Regions from separate parts of the Homo sapiens genome. Here region 1 is linked to region 2. The links are contacts of gene promoters, found by promoter capture Hi-C in blood cells and fetal thymus (Javierre and others, 2016). All regions are on one chromosome and are shown on one strand. The core of a region is centred on a gene start or on the middle of the fragment in contact, and the rest is flanking DNA. Distances in the headings are between cores, read along the strand shown.

Region 1 (7,684 bases), core at 376-2,875, 1.5 Mb after region 2:
CAGGGCACACTAGGCAGCCGACACTTTGAAACCTGAAATAGCCAAGATTCCTCAATTATTCGTCGAAGTTACATGGGAGATTCAGTCAACTGAGCTTAAGAAGATGCCCTATATGTTGTCAGCAAGGGGGAAAAAGTCAGTTCCATGTATCCCTGACTTAGGAATCTATCGCACCCCACCTTCCCACGGCAGGCTACATCTGGGCTGATTTGCTGGGTCCCCAAACTCGGTAGAGAGCGCCCCAAGGATCAGGGACCGGCGGCCCCACCTGCTGGGTCCCATCCGCCACCTGGATTGGCAAGGCCTGGCCCCCCTTGCAAGTGGACCCCTTCCCTCCCTGCTCCCAGAAGCCCAGCCCAGAACGGCGTTCTTTCCGGGGGCCCAAAAGCAATCAGACCTTTAAAAGAAAAAAGAGGGAGCGCAGACTGGCATTATATAACAATTTACAGTAGATAAGACTTCTAGAAAACGAAAGCAGCCCGAGGAGGGGCGGGGGACAGGGGAGACCAGGGGAGTGCGGCGTCGGGGGAGCGGTCGCCACCACTTACTCGAAGGCGAAGAAGAGTCCGCTAGTGACCAGGATGAGGACGAGCGTCAGGTAGAAGACGCCCGTCTGCCGGGCCATCATGATCCTCCCGTTACAGAAGAACTTGTTTCTTCCCGGGAACACCTCCCATTTCCTCCGGGCCGCGATTTTCTTCTTCTTGTGGGGCGACTCCATGGGGGAGGAGCTGTGGGTGCTGATCTGGCTGTACTCGCAGTCTTTCATGGGCCCGCCGCCGCCGGGAGGCATCCACGAGGGCAGCCGGCTGGGGGCGCACACCCCCAGGAGCCCCCCGGCCGCGCGGGCCCCGCCGAGCCACGACCGCCGCCGGCCGCCCGGCCGCCCCCCGAGCCGCGGCGCCGCGGCCCCTACACGGGCTCCCGGCTCGGCGACAACTTTGCCGAGGACACCCAGGTTAACCCTCCGGGGAGCCCAACTGTCATAGCAGAATCCCCGCTCCGTGAGGGGACGGCGCTGGTCCGCAGCCCGCGGCAGCACTCCTCCGTCGCTTCCAGCCCGCGTCCCGGGGCGCGGGGCTCAGCCCGGCCGGCCCCCGGGTCGCCGAGCGCCCGCCCCCTCGCGCGGCTGCCCGCTCGGCCCCGCAGCCCCCGGCTCCCCGGCCGCGCCTCGGCTCTGGCCCGCCGACCCCCGAGCACTGCGCCCCGAGGGGACACGAGGCGGCGGCCCCGGCGCCGGCTTCCTCGGGAGCCACTTCTGCGGCGCGGCCAGGTTGGGTCCACTCCTTCCTCCGGCAGCGGATCCTCCCAGGAGAGAGCGCTGGCGACTGGGCGGCCGCGCGCGGCACCGGCAACCCCTCCCAGGGGTGGGGACAACCACGCACGTTTTTCTGTCAGGAGCCTCTCGGCGAGAGCCGGGGCGCCGCTCGCACCGCGACCCGGTGTCGCTGCGCCTGGCAGCCTAGTCGAATCCGCGGCCCCCGCGCGGGGATGCGCGGGCCGAGGGCGGCGGCGGCTCGCGGGCCGCGCGGCGAGGGCTCCCTTGCTCCCTCCTACCCGGAGGAAGCGGCCCCGGCGCGAGGAGGGCCGCGGGGACACAGCACAGACACTTGTTTGCAAGGCTCAGCCCGGCGCGCGCGCGGCGCTCCGAGTGGGTCCGCCTCCTCCGGGCCGGGTGGGCGGTGGCCTCGCGCCTCACCCGCGGCTCCTCCTCCTGCTCCTCCTCCTCCTCGCCCGCGAAGCCAGGGCACCGGCGCAGCGAGATTCCAGCCCCAGCCCCCTCGGGCGGGCGCCCTGGGGTGTGGAAGGCGCGGGGCTCCCTGTGGCATCGCCCAAGTAGGGATGGGGTCGGGCGCCCGCGGCCCCGCCGCGCAGTGCGCTCCTGGCCGACTTCAGTCCGTCTCGCGGCTTCTTCCGGGTTTATCCCGCGCAGCAGCTGCCGCCTCGGGACACGCTCATTCCCACGGCCACCGGCAAGCCACTCCTGGCGACTCCCCGGGACCTGAGGAGCCGCGGCGCGGAGGTGACCCTCCCCGGCCTGCGCCTCCCTTCTTCCTCCTCCCCAGCTGGGCGCGTGGTCGCGTCGCCCGGGGACTCTGGTGATGCCCGAGAAATGGGCTGGGGGTGCCGGGTGCCAGGATGGGGTGGGGCGGCCCTAGGCCGGCCTGACTTCGGGACCGGGCTGCGGGCGAGGGTCTCGGGGCCCGGCTCGGCCGGCTTCCGGGCCGAGAAAGAAGGGCAGAGGAAGCGGTCAGGGTCCCCTCCGGCCCCGGCCTCCCTCCCGGAGTATAAGCCCTTGGAGGCCAGGTTTTGGGTTGCTGCCGCCCAGCTCTTTCGGTCTCCACTTCTCCCCACGGACGTTTACAGCTGCTCGCTTTATTTCTCCCTCCATTCCCCCGTGGAGCCCCCTCGGCAGCGGAGGGGTCGCGTGCTTCTCCTCTCCCGCCTGCGCCTCCCCCCTTCCCACCCGACAGCCCAGGAGGAGCTGCGGGCGCGGCCCTGGGACGGCCGGAGCCTGGGGCTTCTGCTCGCTCGCGCCCTCCCAGGCGTTGCCGCGGGTCCGAGCCCCCGCAGAGGTGGGCATAGCCCCGGGGCCGCAGAAAACGAAGGCAGCTGGGCAGGGATGCTCAATTTCCCGAGCCCCACTTTCCTTTCACAGCCCACTGGGATGTGTAGTTCTTCCGCCCGCAGGCCTGCGCCGAGGAGAAGCACGACTCGGGGCCTTAGAAACTACAAGTCCCTGCATCCCCCGCGACAAGGGCAGGAGAGGCGTGGTGCTGGGCGTTCTGGGGCTAGGTGGTGGGAGATGGGAACCAACAAAGGGGGTTGTGGGGAACGGTGCCTTCTCTGTACTGGGCAGTTTGCACGTTACACATGTTCTTTGTCTAATCTTCGCCGGAACCCGGTGAGGCATTATTGTATCCAGCTTAGAGAAAGCTTAACTACTGGCCAAACATCACAAAGCTCCCAAGTAGTAGAGATGGCATCGAACCCAGAGCCCTAAGTATGTCCCTTACAAAGCGTGCCTCAGTGAGGAGTGTCGAAGGGGGATGAGATTGGCTTATCCAAGAGGGCCAGTTGGGAGGAGCTGTGGTAAGGAAAAAGTGATGGGAATAGCAATTAGAGTATGACATGCAATTACAAGGAGTTTTGAATACAAGTGAAATTTACAGGGGTCCATTCCAAAGCCGGTTAGAGTCTAGGGAGAATGGATCTTAAGCACACGATAATAATTGGGTTTTAATTATTTTAGATATTGTATGAGAGACAAGCATATTACAGGGACAATTAAGTATTTGTGGCTGGACTAGTTTTAAAAAACCAACTGGAAAGCTTCATACATTTCAAGTGAAAGCTCTCATATGCTTTCCTGTCCTTTAGCTAATGAGATCAACGGGGTATTATTCTTATTCTGTTTATTGCAAGCACCTTTTCTGTGGGTGTCCAATTAATATAATAGATCCATTGATTTGATGGCATTAAAAAAGACTCCCACTCTTATTCTCAATGAAACCGAATTTTTCTGGCATTATGGTTATGCTTTTAAAAAGTCCTTCCTTGTCTGTTAGAGATATGTACTAAAGTATCTGCCAGCGAAATAATATAAAGTCTGAAATGTGCTTTAAAACACACCAGCCCATCCACTCCCCTCCTCCCACCCACCCAGCTCCAGACATGGAGGTATAAATGAAACAATTGGAAACTGTTGAAAATAGTTGACCTTGGGTGACATGTACTTGTACTTAATTATTTATTGCTGCAAATTGCCACAAACGTAGTGGCCTTAAAACAAGACAGATTTTTCTCACAGTTTTTATGGATCAGGTGTCCAGGTACACTCAGTCCCCCACTTAGGGTCTCACGCCTGCCATCAAGGGGCTGGCCAGGCTGCGTTCACATTCACTGGAGAAGAACTGGCTTCCACTCTGACTCCGGGCACAGGCAAAATTCCTTTCCTTGCAGCAGTAGGACCGAGGGCCCTGGCTTCTTGCTGGCTGGAGACTGGAGACTGTCCTCAGCTCCAAGAGGGAACCTGCAATTCCTAGAGGTTACCTGGACTTCATTGTCACTTGGGCTTTCCGAGCACAGCCACTTATTTTGTCAGGCCTGCAAGGAGAGTCCCCAGAGTGAGTCTCCAGCAAGACAGAATTTTATATAACATAAAGCAATCCCACGGGGGCAACTTCAAATGTGAACATTCTGTTGGCCAGAAAGCATGTTTTGCACACACTCAAAGGGAGAGGAGTACACAGGGCATGAACCCTAGGGTGAGGGACACCCCGGAGTGCATCCACCACAGTGTACATGAGAGTCCATTATGCTTTTCTTACCTACCACATCTACTCATGTTTATGTTTGACATTTTCCATAATAAAAAGAAATGAATTCGTTTTAAAATGTTACCTAAAGTTTCCACAGCAAATAAGATATGCTGATATGATTTCTAAATAGCTGATACAATTGTCTGTAGTTGTCTTCCAGGGGATAACTTTTTTCTTCCCACTCCATGTGTACTAAGACCTCTGCGGTTAATTCACTTGTATGGGTTACCCTCCCCTAAGAGCGTTCACTAGAACCTGGTGTGTGATAGCTGCAGAGTTCACCTCACCAGCTACAGTTGATCTTGAACAATATGGGTTTGAACAGCGTGGATGCCCTTAGACACGGATTTTTTTCAACCAAATGCAGATGGAAAATACAGCATCCGTGGGATGGGAAATGCGAGTATTCAGAGGGCAAAGGCCCACTCTTCCTATATGCAGGTTCTGTGGAGCCTGTTTAAGGACCTGAATATGTGCAGATTCAGGTATACGCAGGTGATCCTGGAACCAATCTCCTGAGGATACTGAGGGATGACTGTAAAACCTACTGTATAAGGGATGGTAGAGTTTATTCATTTATTTTACAGTTATCTATTTCAGGGCCTAGATTGTGCTAAGTACTGTTTTAGCAGCAGTGATACAAAAAGATCCAAGATAGAAGCTTATATTTGGGGACTGGGGGAGAGGTGGAGAGAATAAACAAATAAATAAATGACTAGTAAGACAATTTCAGAGAGTAATTACAAGAACGAAAAAACAAAGCAGGGTTATGGGATGGAGAGACTGGGGTCGGGCAGAGAATCGAATGATGGGAAGGGGCAAGTACCAAGTCCTCAAGGCAGAACAACCTGGAAAATTCTAGGGGTACAAAGAAAAACCAGTCTGGCTGGAGTGGAGCGAGGGCCAGGGAGAGAGGGAAAAAGGAACAGGAATTCATTCTGTGTGCACCAGCATCAATTCTGTATGCCACACTCTGTACCCACCATCGGTGTAAGTGTTGAGGGGTCTGAAAGAAAAATCACCGTCCTTGCCCTCCAGGAATGTATAGATTCCAAACTTTAATGCTAGAGGGACGTCAGCGTATCTAGAATTAGAGACCAAAACTTGTATTTCTCAAACAAGGACACTGAAAAGTCAAAAGACCTGCTAAAAATTCCTTGAGAATGCCTCGCCAATAACAAATAATCCAAAAATGAGTCTTGAATTGAATTGAAAGAGTGCATGATCTACTTTTGCTAAATGGGGTTTAGCCTAATACTGCCTCTTTACATATTTTAAGTTTGGCCTAAAGGTTTCTCTGTACACTGAACTGTAGCCTAAATGGAAGTGTAAACAGAGTGTGATCTACTCGGGTGTCAATTACTGAGTTTTGGCCACTCAATTGTGGCCAGCTGTTCAAACCATGTTCAAATAAGACAAATGCTGAGCTGTAACCATCTGGCTGTTTCCGTACCTCATTTCCGCTTTCTGTACGTCACTTTCTTTTTTCTGTCCATAAATTCTCTTCCACCACGCGACTGCACTGCAGTCTTTGAGGCTACCCTGGCTCAGGAGGCTGCCCAATTCATGAATCATTCTTTGCTCAGTTAAACTATTTTAAATTGAATTCAGCTGAAGTTTTTCTTTTAGCACTTTAAAGCTTTAGAAAATTGATAATGTTTAGTGCTTGTCACGTGCAGGTCAGTATGATGAAGGTAAATGCGGCAGAGAAACTACAGTTAAGGTTGGGAAACAAGATGGAGGCACATGAGAAATTCAATAATACAAGAGAACGATATTATAAAAATAATGATCTTTTCTCCAGAGTATTTTTGTATTAGTCAATCTCCTGGTTCTTTATACATTTAGATCATTAAATCCGGAGGACAACCTGATGAGGCAGGGATTATTATCTTTATTTCACAGAGGAGGAAACTGAAGATCAGAGAAGTTAGGTGATTTGCCCAGGGTTTTGCAGTAAGTAAGTAATAGAGTCAAGATTCTAGGCCAGGTATGAATGTCTGACTCAAGCTTTCCTATATCCCCCACACAATGGAAAGAGCACGCGGTCTGATGAACCAACAACTGAGTGGAATAGAGAAATCATCTTGATTTCAGAGTGAAGAGAAATCTCAGGCCCAGCCTGTAGCAAAGTGCACCTCTGACCTTGACAGTTTGGACAGGAAGAATATGAAAGGGTTAGTCTCTCAGGGAAATGGGGATGGGTACAGAAAAGTAAATTATTGGGAAAGTGCATGATGTTTCTAGCTGGAGTAGAACTGACAGGGATCCAAGCACAATTAGTTTATTTGGGAGGGGATTGCAGAAAACACCAGCAGAAGAGTGAGGAAGTGAGATAGGGAGGGAAAAGAAACCAATAAAGCATGCGCTATCGAGCAAGCTACCATGGTGGGCCACCGAAATCGGACCCTCTAGGGCAGTGGTCCCCAACTTTTTTGGCACCAAGGACCAGTTTTGTGGAAAACAATTTTTCCACGAACTGGAGGGTGAGGGGATGGGGGCATGGTTTTGGGATGAGTCAAGTGCATTACATTGATTGTGTACTTTATTTCTATTATTAGTATTACATTATAATATATAAAGAAGTAATTATACAACTCACCATAAGGTAGAATCAGTGGGAGTCTGAGCTGTTTTCCTGCAATTAGACGGCCCCAGTGGGGGTGATGGGAGGTAGTGACAGATCATCAAGCATTAGAGTCTCATAATGAGCATGCAACCTAGGTCCCTCACATGCTCAGTTCACAACAGGGTTCACACTCCTATGAGAATCTAATGCTAATCTGACAGGAGATGGAGCTCAGGCAGTAATGCGAGCGACGGGGAGGGCTGTAAATACAGATGAAGCTTCGCTCACTTGTCCACTGCTCACCTCCTGCTGCGCAGCCCGGTTCCTAACAGGCCGTGGACCAGTACTGGTCCGTGTCTCTGGGGTTTGGGGATCCCTGCTCTAGGGGACTCTGGGAGGCCCGAGGTGTGCAACCTGCCAGAGTTATCCCAACTGAGGGGCAAGAAAGCTGAAGTTTATTCACCAATTCCCCATCTGTTATTAGTCGAGACCTCCTTCTGGGAGCATTACTCTACCTTCTTTACGTTTTCATCACTCTCCTCAGTTGTCACTGCCATCAGCAATTACAGCAACGAGCTGGCCCTCCCTGGTTTGTTAGTATCTTTGATTCTAGTAGGTCTCTCCCTGTCCTCATCTGACTCAGTGGATTCACTGACAATAGGGGTTATGTTATTCACAAAGCTAGAGCATTGTTCTTTTCATGTCAGCAGCTCAAAGCATTCCACAAACCCATCTCATTAGTTCTCAGCATACCTTCAAGAAGCCAAGAGGAAGTATAGCCTTATCCACTGTG
Region 2 (7,000 bases), core at 738-3,237:
TCAGAGCAGCTTTATGCATAATAGCCAAAAACTGAAAACAACCCACATACACATCAATGGTAAAAAGGATAAGTTAACTTAAGTATATTCATGCAATAGAATACTATTCAGTAATAAACAAACTTCAAACTACTGATACGTGTGATAACATGGAGGAATCTTACAGACACTACGGTGGGTGAAAAAAAACAGAAATGCAAAGGTGTCCAATCTTTTGGCTTCCCTGGGCCACACTGGAAGAATTGCCTTGGGCCACACATAAAATACACTAAAATTAACAATAGCTGATGGGCTAAAAAAAAAAAAAAAAAATCACATGGCGGGGCGCGGTGGCTGATGCCTGTAATCCCAGCACTTTGGGAGGCCGAGGTGGTCAGATCACCTGAGGTCGGGAGTTTGAGACCGGCCTGCCCAATATGGTGAAACCCCATCTCTACTAAAAATACAAAAATTAGCCAGGTGTGGTGGCACCAGCCTGTAATCTCAGCTACTCGGGAGGTTGAGGCATGAGAATCGCTTGAACCTGGGAAGCGGTGGTTACAGTAAGCCGAGATCACACCACTGCACTCCAGCCTGGGCAACAGAGACTCTGTCTCAAAAAAATAAATAAATAAATAAAGTCACAAAAAATCTCGCAATGTTTTAAGAAAGTTTACAAATTTGTGTTGGGCCACATTCAAAACCGTGGCCTGTGCGGGTTGGACAAGTTTGGAATAAAGCATAATGCTTGATTGCAATTACATGAAGTTTAAGAGTAGACACAACTCATACTTGGTAATTTAAGTCCAAATGAATAGTGGTTACCTCTGGGGAAGTACTACTGACCGGAAGGAGCAGTTGGAAACCTGGGGTGATGGAAATGTTCTAGATCTTGACCTAGGGGCTAATGACATGTGTATACATATGTAAAACTTCACCCAGCTGTCCTCTTAATTTCTGTGCGATTTATTGTGTGTAAATTATATCAGTTAGGAAAAAATAAGAAAAATGAAGGAATGATGGAGAAAAAAAGAAATGAAGAGAAACGTAACGAAGGAAGAAAGAAGGGAGGAAGGGAGGGAGGGAGAGAGGAAGGGGGGATTAAACCCAAGCACGGAGGGGGAGAGATGCTCCTCAAAAATATGCTATCAGTCATGTAGTGTTATTTATTTATTTATTGAGATGGAGTCTCGCTCTGTTGCCCAGGCTGGAGTGAGTGGCACGATCTCGGCTTACTGCAACCTCCACCTCCCAGGTTCAAGAGATCCTCCTGCCTCAGCCTCCCGAGTAGCTGCCATTACAAGCACACGCCATGGTGACCGGCTATTATCTGCATCTTAAAGATGGGGAAAGTTTGAGGTTTCCTGATGTGTTCAGCGTCACAGACTGGGTGAGTGACTCAAGCTGAGGCTAAAACCCAGGTGTGTAGGGCACCAAAGCCTTTGTGATTCCACCTCCTACAGCTCAGGTCACTTCCTCGGAGAAAGGTGACTCCTAGAAATGCCTCCCACCTGGAACTGATCTCCTCCTGGGAAGAACGTCTGTCTTATCGCCGTCGACCTTAGGCATGGACACCCTTCTGTCCCCCACCCACAACTGTGAGCCTGCTCAGGAGGCACAGCCGCGTTCATTCATTTTAGGCCTCCTCAAGGGCTCAGCGCCTGCTAAGCAGATGCGCGTTCCTGTAGGACAAGGGGTGGCCACTGGAGACGCGGGTGCGACGCAGGCGATCACGCCCTCGGACGACGCTGCGGACTGCGCTTCCTTCCGAAGAGGGAACCGTTGAGAAGAGTGAAGCGATGAGTTATGCCTCACTGGAAACCAACCGCGTCCGTGTGACTCACTTAGAAACTCACTGTTACATATTTGGAGCCTGAGCTGACGACCTTCCGGGTACACGTCAGGCAGAAGCAGGTGCGCGGTGGGAGTGTCCGCCCCGCCCCGCCGGTCGCGCCGGCCCCGCCCCCCTCACCTGCGCGCGCAACCCCACCCCAGCGCGAGGCTCTGCACCGGCCGCGCCCGCCATCCAGCTTTTATATGGCGCTATTTTGGTCGCGCGCCCTGATTGGCCGGGAGCGGGCGACGACACGCTCGCGCGCCTCAGGGAGGGGCCAAGATCTGGGGGAGGGGAGCTTCTGGCAGCCGCGCGGATCCGGGGGCGGCGGGGCGGGACTGCTGCGGTCTCTGGGGGTGCTTTGGGGCTTCTGTGCCTAGTCTGCAATCTGTTAGTGGGGTTATATTTTAATAAAAGAGCTTGTGTGTCCGAAGGGGATTTGCCAAGAACCAAACTCACCCTTCTGGGAGGGAGTTGCCAGATGGCGGGAACAGGCGGCGTAAACCTTACCAGACGTGAGCCCAGGCTGCTCAAGTGTCATTCGCGTCTTGAAGCTCTTGCCCGCCTCCCTTTGCAAGCGCGTCTAATGCCAACTCTACCTTGCCCTTTGCTAAACCAGCCCTCTAATGTGTTATCGTGCCTCACGTCAGACAATGGCTGGGCCTGTCTCTCTTTCCCCTTGGTTCTGTCCTCTGCCCTTCTCTTAAGCCAGAAGAACAAAACACTCCTTAGAATCGCTGGAGGATCTCATTTCCACCACATTCCCGTGTCCGGAGCCGAAGAGCCACGTCTGACCCTCACTGGTCTGGCTGTCCACCAATCAGGCAGCATTGCTTCTCTGAGTCTCAAGGTTATTAAATTTCTTCTGGTGGCAGACTGGTTTTGTACTTTGGTGAAAGTGACCAAATAGGTACGAAGTGTGATTCATCAAAAATTCTTACACTTAAAAAGATAAGCCAAAAGGATCATTCGAAGCCACCACTCCATATTAGATGGGAACTTAGCTTGAAAGGGGTTCTCTTAAGGATTTCTATTTACTTCTTTGAATTACAAATATCATCTCTGGTTGGAAAGCCTATAAACGCCTCTGAGATTTCCTGAGTTCACAACTTTGAAGATCATTTGCAGCTGGATGCAGAAAAAACAAACCTAGTAATTGTTGAATGTGGACATCAATAAGAATTAAGTACTTTTGGCCCAAAGGCAGTGGTTCACACCTGTAATCCTAGCACTTTGGGAGGTCGAGGCAGGAGGATAACCTGAGGTCAGGAGTTCCAGACCACCCTGGCCAACATGGTGAAACCCCATCTCTACTAAAAATACAAAAATTGGGTGGGCGTGTTGGCGCATGCCTGTAATCCCAGCTACTCAGGGCTGAGGCACCGAATTGCTTGAACCCAGGAGGCAGAGGCTGCAGTGAGCAGAGATCATGTCACTGCACTCCAGCCTGGGCGGCAGAGCAAGACTTGTCTCCAAAAAGAACTTTCAATGTGCCAGGCATTTTAAATGCTTAACAGGCATTTCATTTAATCCTCACAAAATCCCCATGACTTAGATACTATTATTATACCCATTTTACAGAAAGGGTCTAGAAAGCTTGCATAACATTGTGTCTGGACTTGGTTCCTGCCAGTGGGTTCGTGGTCTCAGTGACTTCAAGAATGAAGCCACAGACCTTCGCGGTGAGTGTTACAGCTCTTAAAGATGGCCGGGACCCAAAGAGTGAGCAGTAGCAAGGTTTATTGTGAAGAGCGAAAAAGCTTCCACAGCATGGAGGAGGACCCAAGTGGGATGCCGCTGCTGGCTGGGGTGGCCAGCTTTTATTCCCTTATTGTCCCCACCCATGTTCCATTTCTATCCTATCAGAGTGCCCTCTTTTTCAATCCTTCCCGTGACTGGCTACTTTTAGAATCCTGCTGATTGGTGCGTTTTACAATCCTCTTGTAAGACAGGAAAGTTCCCCAAGTCCCCACTGGACCCAGGAAGTCCAGCTGGCCTCACCTCTCAACATGACTCATGCAACACATTAGTACCATGGCAGTGCCGGGATTCACACCCAAGGTTGTCTGACTCCTGTGTGCCCTTAACTACTAAGCTCTGCAGTTTCTTCTTTCCTAACCAGAAACTTAGTCTTAAGCGGGCCCAGAAGGAGTTGGGATCACTACCAGGTGTTACAAATCTTCAGGAAGACATTTGTCCTGCTGCTGGTTTAAGAAAAGGATTGCTACTGTGGGGCGTGGTTGCTCACACCTGTAATCCCCACTATTTGGGAGGCTGAGGTGGAAAGATCACTTTAGCCCAGGAGGTTCAGGCTGCAGTGAGCTGTGATCACACCGCAGCACTCCATCCTGGGTGACAGAGCGAGACCTTGTCTTAAGAAAAAAAAAAAGATTGCTATGTGAGAGGGAAAATAAGGGTGCCTACAGTCTCAACAATCTCCGCTTCCCCTGAGCAACAGACCATATTAAATCTGCAGTACAAAGTTTCTGAAAATGTCTCAGATTCTGCTGTGTTCATCAATTTGGAGAACGACCTGTTTACAAAGTGGCCTCACTTAGATCCACTTGGTTGGTTAGGAACCAGGAAGCAAACCGATCATAAGAATGACTTTCAAACTTTCTTCTACACTTTCTTCCAAAAAGCTACCAGAACTACCTGATAGAAATTCCAAATACAGTAGACCCTGCAGTGGAAACTGCCTTGGAGCCAGGCAGGCTTGGGTTTAATCCCCAGTCCCACCATCCCCCAACCCGTCTCTCTGAAGTTGTATGAATTTCCAAACTTTTATGAACCTCAGATTCTTTATTTGTAACCTGTTTGGCTGAAAGGATTAACTGAGATCTCTGAAGTTCCTGAATTATTGAGTGGCACAAATAGGTATTCAAAAAAATGTTCATTATCTTTTTTGCTCCTTCCCGTGAATGATTAAGAAGAAAAGCACCTAGTCATGACTATTCTATCTTTATTATTTCTCTTACAGAGCTACATTGACTGTACTAAGTTTCATAGTCAGGTAGTAATTTACAGTAAGACTTAATTATCATCCATAACTTTAAATGTCCTTATCAAAACTTCAACGACATCACTTCCAAATACTAGCATTAGCTTTGTGTCTGACATTCATTTAACAAAGTTACTAAAAATCTATTAAGTGTAAGACTTTGGTTATTTTTTAATAGAACTTTCTGAAAACTTTTCAGCAATATAGCCTATTGAGAAAAATGGGTATGTTGAAAAACAAAAACAAAAAGCATGGTTTACAAACAAGTATTAGGGAAATAGTATTTTTATTATTATAACCTGTTCCTTCTTACTGCTCCCAAGCTCCAACTCTGACCATAACTCTTAATGAAAATAATTTGGTCTGGTAAGACTAAATAAATAAAAAAGAAAACAAAGTTTATTGAAAAGCAAAACATTGGGCTGGGCACAGTAGCTCATGCCTGTAATGCCAGTACTTTGGGAGGCCAAGGTGGGAGGATTACTTGAAGCCAGGAGTTTCAGACCAGCCTGAGCAATGCAGTGAGACCCCATCTCTAAATAAAAAAGAAAAAGAAAAAAAGACAAAAAACTAAGAACAGAAAGTAGAATTTAAGAAAAATTAAAGATGTTCCTTTACAAACATAATTCAGAGATGCTTTTCCCTTTTAAAGCCATTCAGTATTTTTTGTCAATTGATTTTGCATCATAGACATGACCCATCATTTTCAACACCGCTAATCAGTCAAAGGGAGACTTTTAAGTCTTCAAGTATAAAGTTGTAAAATGTGCAGTGTGTGTTGCACATCAGGGTAGTGGTGGATACTACTGCTAAAATACAAAATTTGCAAACCATTAGACATCCAAGTAAGTTTTAAATGAGCAGATTTCCAGAAATTTGGAAAGTATTAACAAAATGGTTTGAAATTAAGTGGAACAACTTTTCTAGCTCAAAAGAATATGACTTAGGCAACACGTACTTGACACCCAAACACCTGTGTGGATTAGTTGATTTAGTCAAATGAGCAGCCAGCTCAATAGAAAAGAAATTCATCAAACTCACTTTTTTAGACCACATTCACTTCTGCTTTTAGACTTAGCAATCTTTCATAGCACTTGTATCTAAGTAATGTGAAATTAACATATATATTAAATATGTAAGATCAATTATTGAAAAAACTGATGTTATTAGCTACAAAAATAGTAACATGAACTGAGGATGCACTGTAATAGATGCCGGATGCCAGAGTGGTTCAACATAATCATTTTGATTCTCCTTTTAACTCCTGTCATTGCCAGCAACAGTGATTTAGGTTGTGGTTGGCTCAGATTATCTTTTGCTGCAATAAATTTTTGCTGCAATAAAGGGCTGCTGTTGAAAACCTGCCTGTTCTCTAACTCATTACTGTTGCCCCAATACTACATCTTCTATTAAACAAAACTGAGGAGCCAAACGCTAGCAGGTAGTGAAAATGTCCTCTACTATTGCTAAACAAGTGAACACAGCCATCACCCTGAAACCTGAGCATTCAATGAGAATCTACATTTTAAATGGCTCTTTTGAAGCATTCATTCATCCATCCAGTCGTTCAACAAATAATTCTTGCTTTCTATGTCCCAAGCATGTACATAGGAATAAATAGGAGTAGTTCATGTTTCCTGCTATGGAAGGGCTTGCAGTCTAGTGGAGTGAGAGATGAATAAGCAAATAAGGCAGCTGAGAGCTAATTGCAACCATGGAGGAATTTAAGTAGGTGTGCAAAGGTGGAAGGATGGGGAAGGCTATGGAGATTGTAGGCAACACCAAGCACAAGGCTCACGATCTGGGAGTGTCGGGGGATAAGGTCAGTCAAAACACAGATGGCTTGACAGCCACGCTAAGGCATTAGACCACCATCCTGAGGGCAGTGTGGAGCTTACAGGCAGTTGAGAGAATATCAGAGTGGGGAGCCCCAGTGGCTCACGCCTGTAATCCCAGCACTTTGGGAGGCCGAAGCTGGTAGCTCGCTTGAGGTCAGGAGTTCGAGACCAGCCTGGCCAACACAGCGAAACCCCGTCTCAACTAAAAATACAGCAATTAGCCAGGCATGATGGTGCGTGCCTGTAGTCCCAGCTACTCAGGAGGCTGAGGCAGGAGAATTGCTTGAACCCGGGAGGCAGAGGTTGCAGTGAGCCGAGATTGTGCCACTGCACTCCAGCCTGGGTGAC

The links. Contacts are between HindIII fragments. The CHiCAGO score rates a contact against its expected background, and 5 or more counts as called.
Region 1: a contact is called between the fragment with the promoter of ZDHHC14 here and the fragment with the promoter of LINC02901 in region 2, in 1 of 17 cell types (activated CD4 T cells). The highest score is 8.4, in activated CD4 T cells.

The regions. Positions count from the first base shown.
Region 1 is chr6:157,375,131-157,382,814 of GRCh38, reverse strand. ZDHHC14 (zDHHC palmitoyltransferase 14) reads right to left here and starts at 1,625. Exons shown (of 9, transcript NM_024630.3): 1 at 549-1,625. The coding sequence starts at 793. It overlaps LOC124901446, which reads left to right and starts at 1,724. Exons shown (of 1, transcript XM_047419644.1): 1 at 1,724-3,501. The coding sequence starts at 2,114. The coding sequence ends at 3,004. RefSeq lists enhancers at 568-707, 1,466-2,077, 2,689-3,301 and silencers at 798-847, 1,358-2,247, 2,408-2,487. The HindIII fragment of the contact is 8,143 bases long and covers 1-2,939 here.
Region 2 is chr6:158,864,801-158,871,800 of GRCh38, reverse strand. It overlaps LINC02901 (long intergenic non-protein coding RNA 2901), which reads right to left and starts at 1,987. Exons shown (of 3, transcript NR_160980.1): 1 at 1,824-1,987. RefSeq lists enhancers at 994-1,667, 1,598-1,767, 1,668-2,340, 2,341-3,013 and a silencer at 1,848-2,167. The HindIII fragment of the contact is 6,622 bases long and covers 1-3,411 here.